2 separate regions of the Homo sapiens genome follow, and region 2 is linked to region 1. The links are contacts of gene promoters, found by promoter capture Hi-C in blood cells and fetal thymus (Javierre and others, 2016). All regions are on one chromosome and are shown on one strand. Each heading gives the region's core, a stretch centred on a gene start or on the middle of the fragment in contact. The rest is flanking DNA. Distances are from core to core; before and after follow the strand shown. Region 1 holds the start of HIGD2B (HIG1 hypoxia inducible domain family member 2B). Region 2 overlaps TMEM202-AS1 (TMEM202 antisense RNA 1).

Evidence for each region. The method cuts DNA at HindIII sites, captures the fragments that hold promoters and counts their contacts. A CHiCAGO score of 5 or more calls a contact.
Region 2: a contact is called between a fragment that was not itself captured here and the fragment with the promoter of HIGD2B in region 1, in 1 of 17 cell types (naive CD4 T cells). The highest score is 5.0, in naive CD4 T cells.

The regions. Positions count from the first base shown.
Region 1 is chr15:72,683,850-72,689,742 of GRCh38, reverse strand. It overlaps HIGD2B (HIG1 hypoxia inducible domain family member 2B), which reads left to right and starts at 3,561. Exons shown (of 3, transcript NM_001350932.3): 1 at 3,561-3,925. It overlaps BBS4 (Bardet-Biedl syndrome 4), which reads right to left and starts at 3,536. Exons shown (of 16, transcript NM_033028.5): 1 at 3,492-3,536. The coding sequence starts at 3,515. The HindIII fragment of the contact is 12,662 bases long and covers 3,112-5,893 here.
Region 2 is chr15:72,460,146-72,466,038 of GRCh38, reverse strand. The region is part of intron 1 of TMEM202-AS1 (TMEM202 antisense RNA 1); the gene reads left to right. Among named protein-coding and RNA genes, the nearest start is that of TMEM202-AS1, 11 kb to the left of the region's middle. RefSeq lists an enhancer at 3,764-4,033. The HindIII fragment of the contact is 3,083 bases long and covers 1,270-4,352 here.

The sequences.
Region 1 (5,893 bases), core at 2,312-4,811:
TGCTCATTCATTTTTTGTTTTTTTCAGACAAAGTCTCACTCTGCCCCTGCTGGAGTCCAGTGGCATGATCATGGCTCACTGGAGCCTCAACTTCCCCCAGGCTCAGATGATCCTCCCCAGTAGCTGGGAAGACAGGCGCGTGCCACCACGTCTGGCTAATTTTTGTGTTTTTTGTAGAAATGGGGCTCCAACATGTTGCCCAGACTGGTCTCAAACCTCTGGACTCAAGTTATCCTCTCACCTCAGTTTCCACAAGTCCTGGCATTACAGGCATGAGCCACCAAGTACAGCCTGTTTGCTCATTTTTTAAGAATTCTAAACTATACTGAAAATACAAATATTAGTCCTCAGTTTTCCTTCTAAGGAACTGGTAGCAATCCGTAAGTAATTTTGGTAGCATACTAGAATTTCTGCGTCCCACACTGGGCTAGTTTTACTCAGTTTTGATGGGGTGTCTTCTGGCCTCAAGGCCTTGACTGTAGCCTTCTTAGATTTTTAGCTATACATTTCTTCAAAAATTCTGTGAGTTTTGAGTCTTTTCCTTTTCTCTCCTCCATATCCATATATCCTTATCTACGGATCTATATGTTTTCCTTTGTGTTATGAAATTAAGATCACATAATATACCCCACTTCACATCTACCTTTTATTTAAATGTACACCATGGAAGTCCCTCCAAGTCAATTAGTCGTAACATTCTCTTTTTTTTTTTTTCTTTCTGAGTTTAGGAATGGAGGTTTAATAGGCAGAAGAAAGAAAGGAGAACAGCTTTCTCTAGTGAGAGAGAGGGGCTTCTGAGAGGAAAAGCAATTAGTTGTAACATTCTTTTTAATGACTGCATAATATTCCACAGTATGGAAATATCTGAAGTCATCAATTACCCTATTAATGGGCATTTAATTTGCTTCCAGCGTTTTGCCACTACGGATAGTACTACAACGAATGCCCTAGTACTACACGCTCATGTTTAACACTTTTTTCTGTGGGACACAGGTCTAGGAGTAGGATTACTGGGTTCTTTTAATTGTATTAAAAAATAAGGCAGGGGGCCATGGCTCACGCCTGTAATCCCAACACTTTGGGAGACCGAGGCGTGCAGATCACAAGGTCAGGAGTTCAAGACCAGCCTGGCCAACGTGGTGAAACCCCATCTCCACAAAAATAAGCCAGGCATGGTGGTGAGGGCCTGTAACCCCAGCTACTCGGGAGGCTGAGGCAGAAAAATCACTTGAACCCGGGAGGCAGAGGTTCCACTGAGCTGAGATCACGCCACTGCACTCCAGACAGGGCGACAAAGTGAGACTCCGTCTCAAAAAAAAAAAAAAAAAAAAGATAAAATACCACTTCCTAAAAGGACAGAAATTCACATTTCCATGCATTGGTAACTTGAAAAGATGAAAATTACTATAAACGTAACACTACTAGCAATAAATTTGACAACAATGAAAACAGTTAACTTCAGGCTTAATTGCTAAGTCATATCGAAACAAAAGCTATTCTCTTTAAAACAGTATTAGACATTCAAATGTACATGACAATTCTGCCGTCACAGACTCAAGTTCATATTCTATTACACAAACACTTGTGATGAGCACTAGAGGATAAGCTATATTTGTAGCAATGTTATGTTACCCATTATCTTTTACACTTTAAGATTACTTAGAAGTATTTTCTTTTTTTTTTTTTTTTTTTTTTTGAGACGGAGTCTTGCTCTGTCACCCAGGCTGGAGTGGAAGTATTTTCTTTCCTATGTTTTTAATATTTAAAACCCAGTAACATTAACCATGCTATTTACTTTTTTTTTTTTTCTGAGACGGAGTTTTGCTCTGGATGCCCAGGCTGCAGTGAAATGGCACGATCTCGGCTCACTGCAACCTCTGCCTCCTGGGTTCTAAGCGATTCTCCTGCCTCAGCCTCCCTAGTAGCTGGGATTACCAGCGCCCGCCACCACGTCCAGCTAATTTTTTGTATTTTTTTAGTAGGGACAGGGTTTCACTACGTTGGCCAGGCTGGTCTCGAACTCCTGACCTCAGGCGATCCACCCACCTCAGCCTCCCAAGGTGCTAGGATTACAGGCGTGAGCCACTGAGCCTGGCCTATTTAATTATTTTAAAATCTGTTTTTTCTTTCTTTTTTTTTGAGAAGGAGTCTGTCTCTGTCGCTCATGCTGGAGTGCAATGGCATGATCTCGGCTCACTGCAACCTCCGCCTCCGGGGTTCAAGCGATTCTCCTGCCTCAGCCTTCCAGGTACCTGGGATTACAGGCGAGCGCCACGATGCCCCGCTAATTTTTGTATTTTTAGTAGAGACGGGGTTTCACCATGTTGGCCAGGATGGTCTCAAACTCATGACCTCAAGTGATCCACCCGTCTCGGCCTCCCAAAGTGCTGGGATTACAGGCGTGATGCACCGCGTCCGGCCTAGCTATTTTAAATTTCTTAGCTTAATAAAAATGTTTCGGCCGGGCGTGGTGGCAGGCGCCTGTATTCTCAGCTAATCCGGAGGCTGAGGCAGGAGAATTGCTGGAACCTGGGAGGCGGAGGTTGCAGTGAGCCGAGATCGCGCCATTGCACTCCAGCCCGGGCCGACAACAGCGACACTCCGTCTCAAAAAAAAAAGTTTCTGTCTTCAGAGTTTTCTAATTAGACTAGAATAATATGACTACTCTGCAAATGAGAGTAGAAAACAAACAAAAGGCCCTCTAACAATAACACTAACCTTGCTGCTTAGCCAAAACTAAGTTGTAAAACAGCCAAAGGCTGCTATTTGTACTGTTTTCCAGGGCGTTTTTCGAAAGACAATAAATTCCGAATACCTAAAATCATTCTAACAAATGGACAGAACAGGCTTTCAAACCCAACACTAAAGCAAGGTAAACAAAGCTTCACACTTGGCACTTTACCGAAATTAGATCCAATTATAGATATATGCCTCAAAAAATAGCGACTAGGTCATCCTGAATTCATCGGGTTCCTCTATATTAGCAGTTCTGTGGAGTGAACGCCCAACTCAGCCTTCAGATGAATTCCAAAACCGTACTTTCCTAAACTTAATCACCACAGAAAAAACACAGTCCCGCTCCACTGGCAGAAGGCAGTGACGCTGCAAGCTTCCAGGCATGTTAAATTCCCAATTCACGGGATTAACAGGAACTGTCTACACAAGTGCTAGTCATTACCTTCCAAACCCCCGAGACAGAAAAAGATGGCACTACGGTAAGAGCCATTACTGGTGAAAAGTCTCCCTTCTCCGTCCAGCGCACCCCAAGAGGGACTACAGTCCTAGAACAGGACCTGTGCTGCTAAGTATCCAGACTTGCCCCAGGCGACCAGTTCCCGGGACAGTAAAAAGGGGACCGTGTCGCCCCGCCCACCCTGAGACGCTCGGCACCCAGCTCCGCCTCTCTCCAGGAACCGCTGCATGGGACAAAAGCCACCCGCCAGCTTGCCTTGCCCTGCGGCCGGGCAACTAAAGAGAATCTCGGCGCTCACCGTCGCGACTCTCTCCTCAGCCATTTTAGCTCAGCCCACCGCTGCGCGGCCGGAAGTCGGCGGTTTCCCAGACGACGAGGCAAGCGGAAGTCGTAGGGCTGTGGAGGACTGTGAGGAAGCGGGGGAAGGAAGTAAATCGCCGAGTGACCTAAGGAATCAGGGGGAGGATTAGGGTCTGCTCCACAGAAGGCTTACCTCTGAAAGAGTCGGGGAGGGAATGCGCAGCCACTCGCTGCCTTTATCCCGAGAAGCCCCTAACACCCCTCGCCGTGGTCTGTACATGGTCTGTACCTCCGGCCGCGCTGGCTGGTAGGCCAGCCACCTGGGATGGCAGCCTAGTTCTCCCGCCACCTTACCCTGCCCTGACTCTAATCTGCATTTAATTCAGTCCTTCTTCCGGGAGATTTCGGCGGAGAATTTCTTTCTCGCCTTAGGTACAAAACTCCCCGTTTCTTGGCTGTCACTATCGAACTGAGGTACTCACCTTATCAGCTTCCCACTCTTGTTTACTCCAGAGTTTGCAAACATGCTCCTGGTGGGCTGCATTTGAACGGCAGTCTTTTGATTGGAAATATTTAAAAGTTAGGAGATTTCACAAGAAATCGGCCATGGGATAAAGAGACGACAGTCGGCGTTTTCTGCAAGGCAGTGAAATAGATCTGAATAGCGGCTGCGACTGTAGATAACTTCCCTTCCTAACATACTTAAGGCGTTCTCCATTACCTGTCTGGCCCCCGGTGCGGTGAATTAAATGTTTAGTGTTTCTAAACTAGGAAAACGTGTGGGCTTTGGAATCAAACATGAGTTCTGAATTTGACTACTGCATGACCTAAGCCCGTCGTTTCTTTGAGCCTCATTTATTAAAGTGCCGGGAGCTGTGTGATGAACAAAACGGAGGATCCCTGCACCTGAGCACTGACATTAGCCCCAATTCATACTTTTAAGTCTCGCCCTTGTAATTTAGACATAAAATCTGCCTCTCCCAATTCATTAACTGGGAAAGCATTTAAGACAAGTTTCTCCAGGCCTCTAAGAGAGGGAGAACCCCACTGACAATTAGAGTTACATAGAAGAAACAAGTACGGTAATCTATCCAAATACAAGGGGAAAGGACAGCAATAGAATAACAGCTCTTCTAAGTATTTCAGTAACACTCTCTCTTTTAATCTTTATAACAATCCCATGAGACTGTTGGTCTCCCACTTTTTTCAGATAAATACTCTGCCTTTCATTTATTAAAAATAAAATTTTCCAGCTTGGCCAGCATGGTGAAACCCCGTCTCTACTAAAAATACAAAAAATTAGTCGGGCATGGTGGTGCCCGCCTGTAATCGCAGCTACTCGGGAGGCTGAGTCAGGAGAATCACTTGAACCCAAGCGGCAGAGGTTGCAGTGAGCCGAGATCGCATTTCTGTGCTCCAGCCTGGGCGATAGAGGGAGACTCCGTCTAAAAAACAAAAATTTGCTGGGCTCGGTGGCTCACGCCTGTAATCCCAGGACTTTGTGAGGCTGAGGTGGGCAGATCACCTGAGGTCAGGAGTTCAAGACCAGCCTGGCCAACATGGTGTAACCCTGTCTCTACTAAAAATACAAAAAATTATCCGGGCGTGGTGGCCGGCTCCTGTAATCCCAGCTACTAGGGAAGCTGAGGCAGGAGAATTGCTTGAATCCAGGAGGTGGAAGTTACAGTGAGCTGAGATCATCCCATTGCACTCCAGCCTGGGCAACAAGAGCAAAACTCTGTCTCAAAAAAATTTTTTTTCAGAGGCAGGGGTCTCACTATTGATGTCCAGACTGGACTTGAACTCCTAGGCTCAAGTAATCCTCCTGAGGCAGGAAAATAGGGTCTGGAGGTAGGGAACATAAGGCCAATTCACACTTCAGCTATAACAGGTAATATTCTGTCCATAGGGCATAGGCCATAAATGTCTTTGTAACTTTACTTCATCTTCTCTATTTACATAAGGCATACCCGAAGTAACCATGGAATCCTCTGGGGTTATTTAAACTCCCCAAAATTCTGTAACGGAGCCACTGAACTTCTAAGCTCAGGCCCGCTCCCACACTGGAGTGTACTTTCATGTTCAGTAAATTCCTTGTCCCTTCCTTGCTTTGTTTGTGCATTTTGTCCAATTCTTTTTTCAAGACACCAAGAACCTGGACACCCTCCACCTTTAACACTTCCACCTCATCCTCTCAAGTAGCTAGGATTACAGGCACCAGTCACCATGCCTGGTGCTAAATTCTCCACTTTTCAGAGATTAATTAAACACCTTGCCTAAGTGAGCCGAGATCGTGCCACTGCACTCCAGCCTGGGAGACAGAGCAAGACTGTCTCAAAAAAAAAAAAAAAGATATAAAGATGAAAAATTATTAATTTCTAATCCACAGTGCTTAGTTTT
Region 2 (5,893 bases), core at 1,562-4,061, 220 kb after region 1:
TGTTGGCCAGGCTGCTCTCAAACTCTTGACCTGAGGTGATCCACCTTGGCCTCCCAAAGTGTTGGGACTACAGGCGTGAGCCACTGCACCTGACTTAATCTTAGCATTCTTAATGAAGACTTACAGTACATAAGCCATGATTTTTTTGGTCAGGCAATCAATAGTTACTTATTAGTGTCTACTCAATGCAAAGCACCTTTCTTGGCATTCTGGAGAAACAAAGAGAGATTATAATTTAGGGAAGGAGATAAATTAAAAGGTTAATTTAAAAAATGATAAGTGCACAGTTGAAGAGATGTCACAAGCCAAGAAGACTGGCACAAATGGTAGTGCTAAAGGAGTTCTTGGTCATGGTGCCATGTGCCTGTAATCCCAGTTACTTGAGAGGCTGTGACAGGAGGGTTGCTTGAACCAAGGTGTTCAAGACTAGCCTGAGCAACATAGCAAGTCCCGATCTCAAAAAAAAAAAAAAAAGTTATAAAAAAAGATAGGTTCAAATCCTAGCTAGGGAAAAAAAGATAGAAGTCACTAGACTGGCATATTCTACAAAAGCATAATTGCTAGACTTTCTTATGCGTCCTGCCTTTGTAACTGCTGTTGCCTCTGCCTGATCTCCTTTCCACCTACTCTTTCCCACAAACTAATTCATGTGCTTCAAAACTACTATTTTTTTCGTATCATTTCTAATATGGTGCTTGATGCCTAGAACATGTAGTCATCTATGTAATGCCCATTCCCAACAAACTTCCAAGCTTTTGTTAATGCTGGAATAAATTAATATAAACCTAAAGTTTATGAATTAGTATAAACCTAAATGTCTGAAAATAATAGACATGTAGTATTGTATTCTTACCTCAAAATATGTTGAATCTTGCCAACATTAAATCAACACTGGTGTTCTTGCCTGTTAATTCTTCTAGGTGTTCATGAAAACTTGAAGGTTGTGTGGAGCAGAAGGAAGAGGGGGTCTGATATGCATGTTCTCCGTGGCACTCCTTATCTAGGATTTCTCTAGGGCAAATGCTCATTTTACCTCCCACATCCCCAGTGGTAACTCAGCCTTTAATACTTCATGGCAAGATAGGATTGATGTTGGAATCCAGCTAAATTGGATACAAATGGTACAATGCAGCTTGGTTATGAATGAATAAAGGACTGCAACAGGAAGCAAAAATCTTTAGGACTTGAAGATTGTAGTAATAGTAAACCCAGAAATAGCAGCACCTGATAGGACCACACAGCCCCAAAGTTTTCAGAAATGAAAAAGCTTTCTTTTTTTGTCTTTTTGTTTTCTCTCTTGGTTTTTTGGTTCTTTTGGTTTCATTTGAGACAATACCATGATTTAGTAGGCATAGTCACCTCTTCCACCCCAGGAACCAAATGCCACTCCCTACAGTTATTTTGCAAAGTGGCATCACAGACATCTTTAGTAAAGTAATAATGGAGAGCTTGTGATACTTGACAAGAAGTCTTTATAAGCCGCTTCACATTTTGCTTTCTGGAAAAGATAATTTAACATTGGATACGTGGATTGACACATTTAAATTGCTGGAGCAGCATACCAAGTTCCTTTTTTTTTTGTTATTTTGAGGTGAAGTTTCAGTTTCGCTGTTGTCCAGGCTGGAGGGCAATGGCGCGATCTCAGCTCACCACAACCTCTGCTTCCCGGGTTGAAGCAATTCTCCTGCCTCAGCCTCCTGAGTAGCTGGGATTACAGGCATGCGCCACTATGTCTAGCTAATTTTGTATTTTTAGTAGAGATGGGGTTTCTCCATGTTGGTCAGGCTGGTCTCAAACTCCCGACCTCAGGTGATCCGCCCACCTTGTCCTCCCAAAGTGCTGGAATTACAGGCGTGAGCCACCGCACCCGGCCTCAAGTTCCCATTTTAAAGAATTTGACAGGACAATAAAGTAATTAAAATCATTACATTGTATCTACATGTTATTAAAACAGAATAGTCCTGGAGGTTTATACCATATTGATTAGTATATTTGTTTACATTAAGCAAAGCCGAGCATATGTGGGCACATTTTTTTTCTAAATCACAAGCTGCATGTATGAGCCGTGAGCCTTTGTTTCTCCTAAGTGAGTGTATATGGGAGATTGCAGGTGGAGAGGGTCAGACAGAGGGATGAGATATTGTGCAACAGTGAGTATTCTTACTCAGCTGACTTTGAGAGGCACAATAGTGTGGTAGTTAGCACCATACATGCCAGAGCTAGAAACCCTACTTATTAAATATGTGACCTTAGGCAAATTAGTTTACCTCTTACAAGCCTGTTTCCTCATCTGAGGAAAAAAAAAGGAAAAATAATAAGGTTTTCCTCATTGGATTGCAATGATGAAATGAGTTAGTGTAAAGGACTTACATTATTATTATTTGACACAGGAAGTGTACAGAGCTTTGTTTTAGGTCTGACTATATACAAAGATGATTATTCAATTTTAAAGTAGTGGCCCTTTGAAGAAAACAAAGCAATATTCATTTGTCAAATTGCTGAAAATGCTACTGTGCTCTTCTTGTATGCCTGTATTTTTATTAGTTAATTCAACAAGTCAGTTGTTCACTAACATGTCAGGCACTGTGCTAGATGTTGAGGTTAAGAAGATAAATAGGCCAGGCGCGGTGGCTCACGCCTGTCTGTAATTCCAGCACATTGGGAGGCCGAGGCGAGCGGATCGCCTGAGGTTGGGAGTTTGAGACCAGCCTGGCCAGACGGTGAAATCCTGTCTCTATTAAAAATGCAAAAAAAAAAAAAAAAATTAGCCAGGTGTGCTGGCATGCGCCTGTAAACCAGCTGCTCAGGATGCTGAGGCAGGAGAATCACTTGAACCCAGGAGGCGGAGGTTGCAGTGAGCCGAGATCCCGCCATTGCACTCCAGCCTGGACAACAGAACGAGACTCTGTCTGAAAAGATAAATAAATAAAACCATTTCAGCTCTCAAGAAGTTCTCAGGCTAGTAAGAGAAGCAGACATGTAAACCATTAATTATAAGTACTATAGTAGAAGTATGATCTGAATGTTAGGGAAGCAAGAATATATGTATCTAACTCAGTGTAGAAGGCACACAAGCGTGTCATGGAGGCCTTCCTAGGGAAAATGTGGCCTGAGCTGGCCAAGCATGGTGGCTCACGCCTGTAATCCCAGCACTTTGGGAGGCCAAGGTGGGCGGATCACGAGGTCAGGATATCGAGACCATCCTGGCTAACACGGTGAAACCCCGTCTCTACTAAAATATATATTTTTTTAAATTAGCCAGGTGTGGTGGCGGGCGCCTGTAGTCCCAGCTACTTGGGAGGCTGAGGCAGGAGAATGGCGTGAACCTGGGAGGCAGAGTTTGCAGTGAGCCAGGATCGTGCCACTGCACTCTAGCCTGGGCAACAGAGCAAGACTCCATCCAAAAAAAAAAAAAGTGTGACCTGAGCTGAGTATTGGAGGACAAATAAATGATGTTCTGGGAAGAGGAATGTGAATGTATATATAAAATATGTAAGTGTGAAATACGGCATATTTGAGCCATGCATTATTTGGGGAACTGCCAGAAATTCAGCATGCCTGAAATTTTGGGTGTATATAAGACTGTTAGGGCCAGGCACGGCGGCTCATGCTTGTAATCCCAGCACTTTGGGAGCCGAGGCAGGCGAATCACATGAGGCTAGGAGTTTGAGACCAGCCCGGCCAACATGGCGAAACCCTGTCTCTACTGAAAATACAAAAAATTAGCCAAACCTAGTGGCACTTGCCTGTAATCACAGCTACTCGGGGGGAGGGCTGAGGCACAAGAATCGCTTGAACCCGGGAGGCAGAGGTTGCAGTGAGCCAAGATCGCACCACTGCACTCCAGCCTGGAGACAGAGCGAGACCCTGTCTCAAAACAAAACAAAAACCTGCTAGAAATGCCATTGTCCCTTCTTGTACCCTTCCCCTAGAAAGGTCCCTTTTTTATTCTTTTTTATCCTCTTTCACTTTCTCTTTACATAACTTGGCTCAAGGCTCCTCGGCTTGCAAATGATAAGAGGTGGAAATCAAAGCCCTGATTCATCTCTCTGTCTCTAGTCTGTACTCCTTCTCTTATGCTACTTTGAAGATTTTCCATTCTTTGAATAAAATTTGTCATTATTTTACTAGGATTTTTGTGAGGGAGATTGTGATAGGTTGTGCTTTACTAGACTAATTTTGGTCATTACATTTAGATTTTATAGAGCTAATAGGATGAGTGCAAGTAGGGGAAGATGTACTCCATATTAATTCAATTAAATATACATATACTGAATGCAGTTGAACGTAACTATTGTGTTAGCTATTATTGAAAATACAAATCAGATTACATTTTCTGTCCTTAAGAAGCTTATATTCTAATACAGGAAATCATGCAGGAAAAAAATCTAATGCCAGATGGTTCGTCAAACAGCTGTCTGTTAAGCTTAGCACTAGGGCCATGTTTCTCAACTTTTATTTCCATTATCAGCCCCCTTATGGAACCCTTTTAGACCTGTTTTTCCTATTCAGCACCCCACTGTAAAATTTTAACACCATAGATACACTGTATATGCTTTAATGGACTGTATGTGTATCTATGCTTTATATATAAAACATACTTTTTTTCATACCCTCCCAAAAAAACAATTTTTTCCTCTTGGGGAGTAATATTGCCCATGTTGAAAATGTGTACACTAAACTAGAGTTACCATTTGCAAGGTCTAAGATTGGGAGTAAAATTCTAGTTTCAGGATTTTAGTAAATATCTAACCATATATTATAATTTAGAAATTAAATTTTCTGAGTTCAGGTAAAACGCACAGCACTGTCAGCATCAGATCAAAAAATAAAATAATTGTATATGCACATACTTGTGTGGCTAAGCTTAAGCTTGTCACGTTGTGCAACTTCAGAGAGTATATTTACAGTATAGTCTGTGTGATGGGAAGGAAAGGAGGGAATGAAAAATCATTTGAAATTATAACCATGATGTGATTAAAAGACAAAATCATCTTAAAGTTTTCTTGACATTCCTATCTTGAACAGAATTATGTGTTTGTCCTTTGCAATATATAATTAATTCTCTGTGAATGTTTAAGTCACCCACATATTAATTTACATACAGGCCAAAAATGTATACCAACCAGAATATTCACAGAATATACACACTTATTTTATTCTTGAATATAGAGCTAAGAACATGAATGCTGTGCTAATTTTTACTCCATAAAGACATTATAAATCAGTTTTATCAAAGCTTAAGTACCCACCCTAGGACAAAAATAAATTATTCTGACCTATATGCCAAGGAACTAAAGGAGATCTCCAGCCACCAAAAAACCTGTGAGGAACTGAATTCCTACCAAAGAACTGAAAGCCTTGGCTTAACAGCCTATGAGGAGCTGCATTCTGCCAACAACCATGTAAGCAAACTTGGAAGTGAATCTTCCTGCAGATGCGATCGCAGCCCTGGGCAAGACTTTTGTTTGCATCTTTGCGAGAGATCCTGAAACAGAGAACCCAGCTAAGCCACACCCAGATTCTGACCCAGGGATACTCTGAAATAATAAATGTTCATTGTTGTTTTTTGTTTGGTTGGTTTTGTGTGTGTATGGTTGGGTTTTTTGGGTATTCCCCCTCCCCCCAAAAAATGAGGTCTCCCTATGCTGCCCAAGCTGGTCTCTAACTCCTGGGTTTAAGCAGTACTTCCACCTCAGCCTCCTGAGTAGCTGGGATTACAAACGTACACCACTGTGCCCTGTTGTTTTTTAATTGAATTCTCCTCCACTTCCACCAAACCATCTCCTTTTAAAGATCAACTGTTCAATAAGTACCTGAACAGTTGATAGATTCCACATACTATACACTACCATAGAACTTAGCACTTCTTTATAGCATTTATCAAATTTGC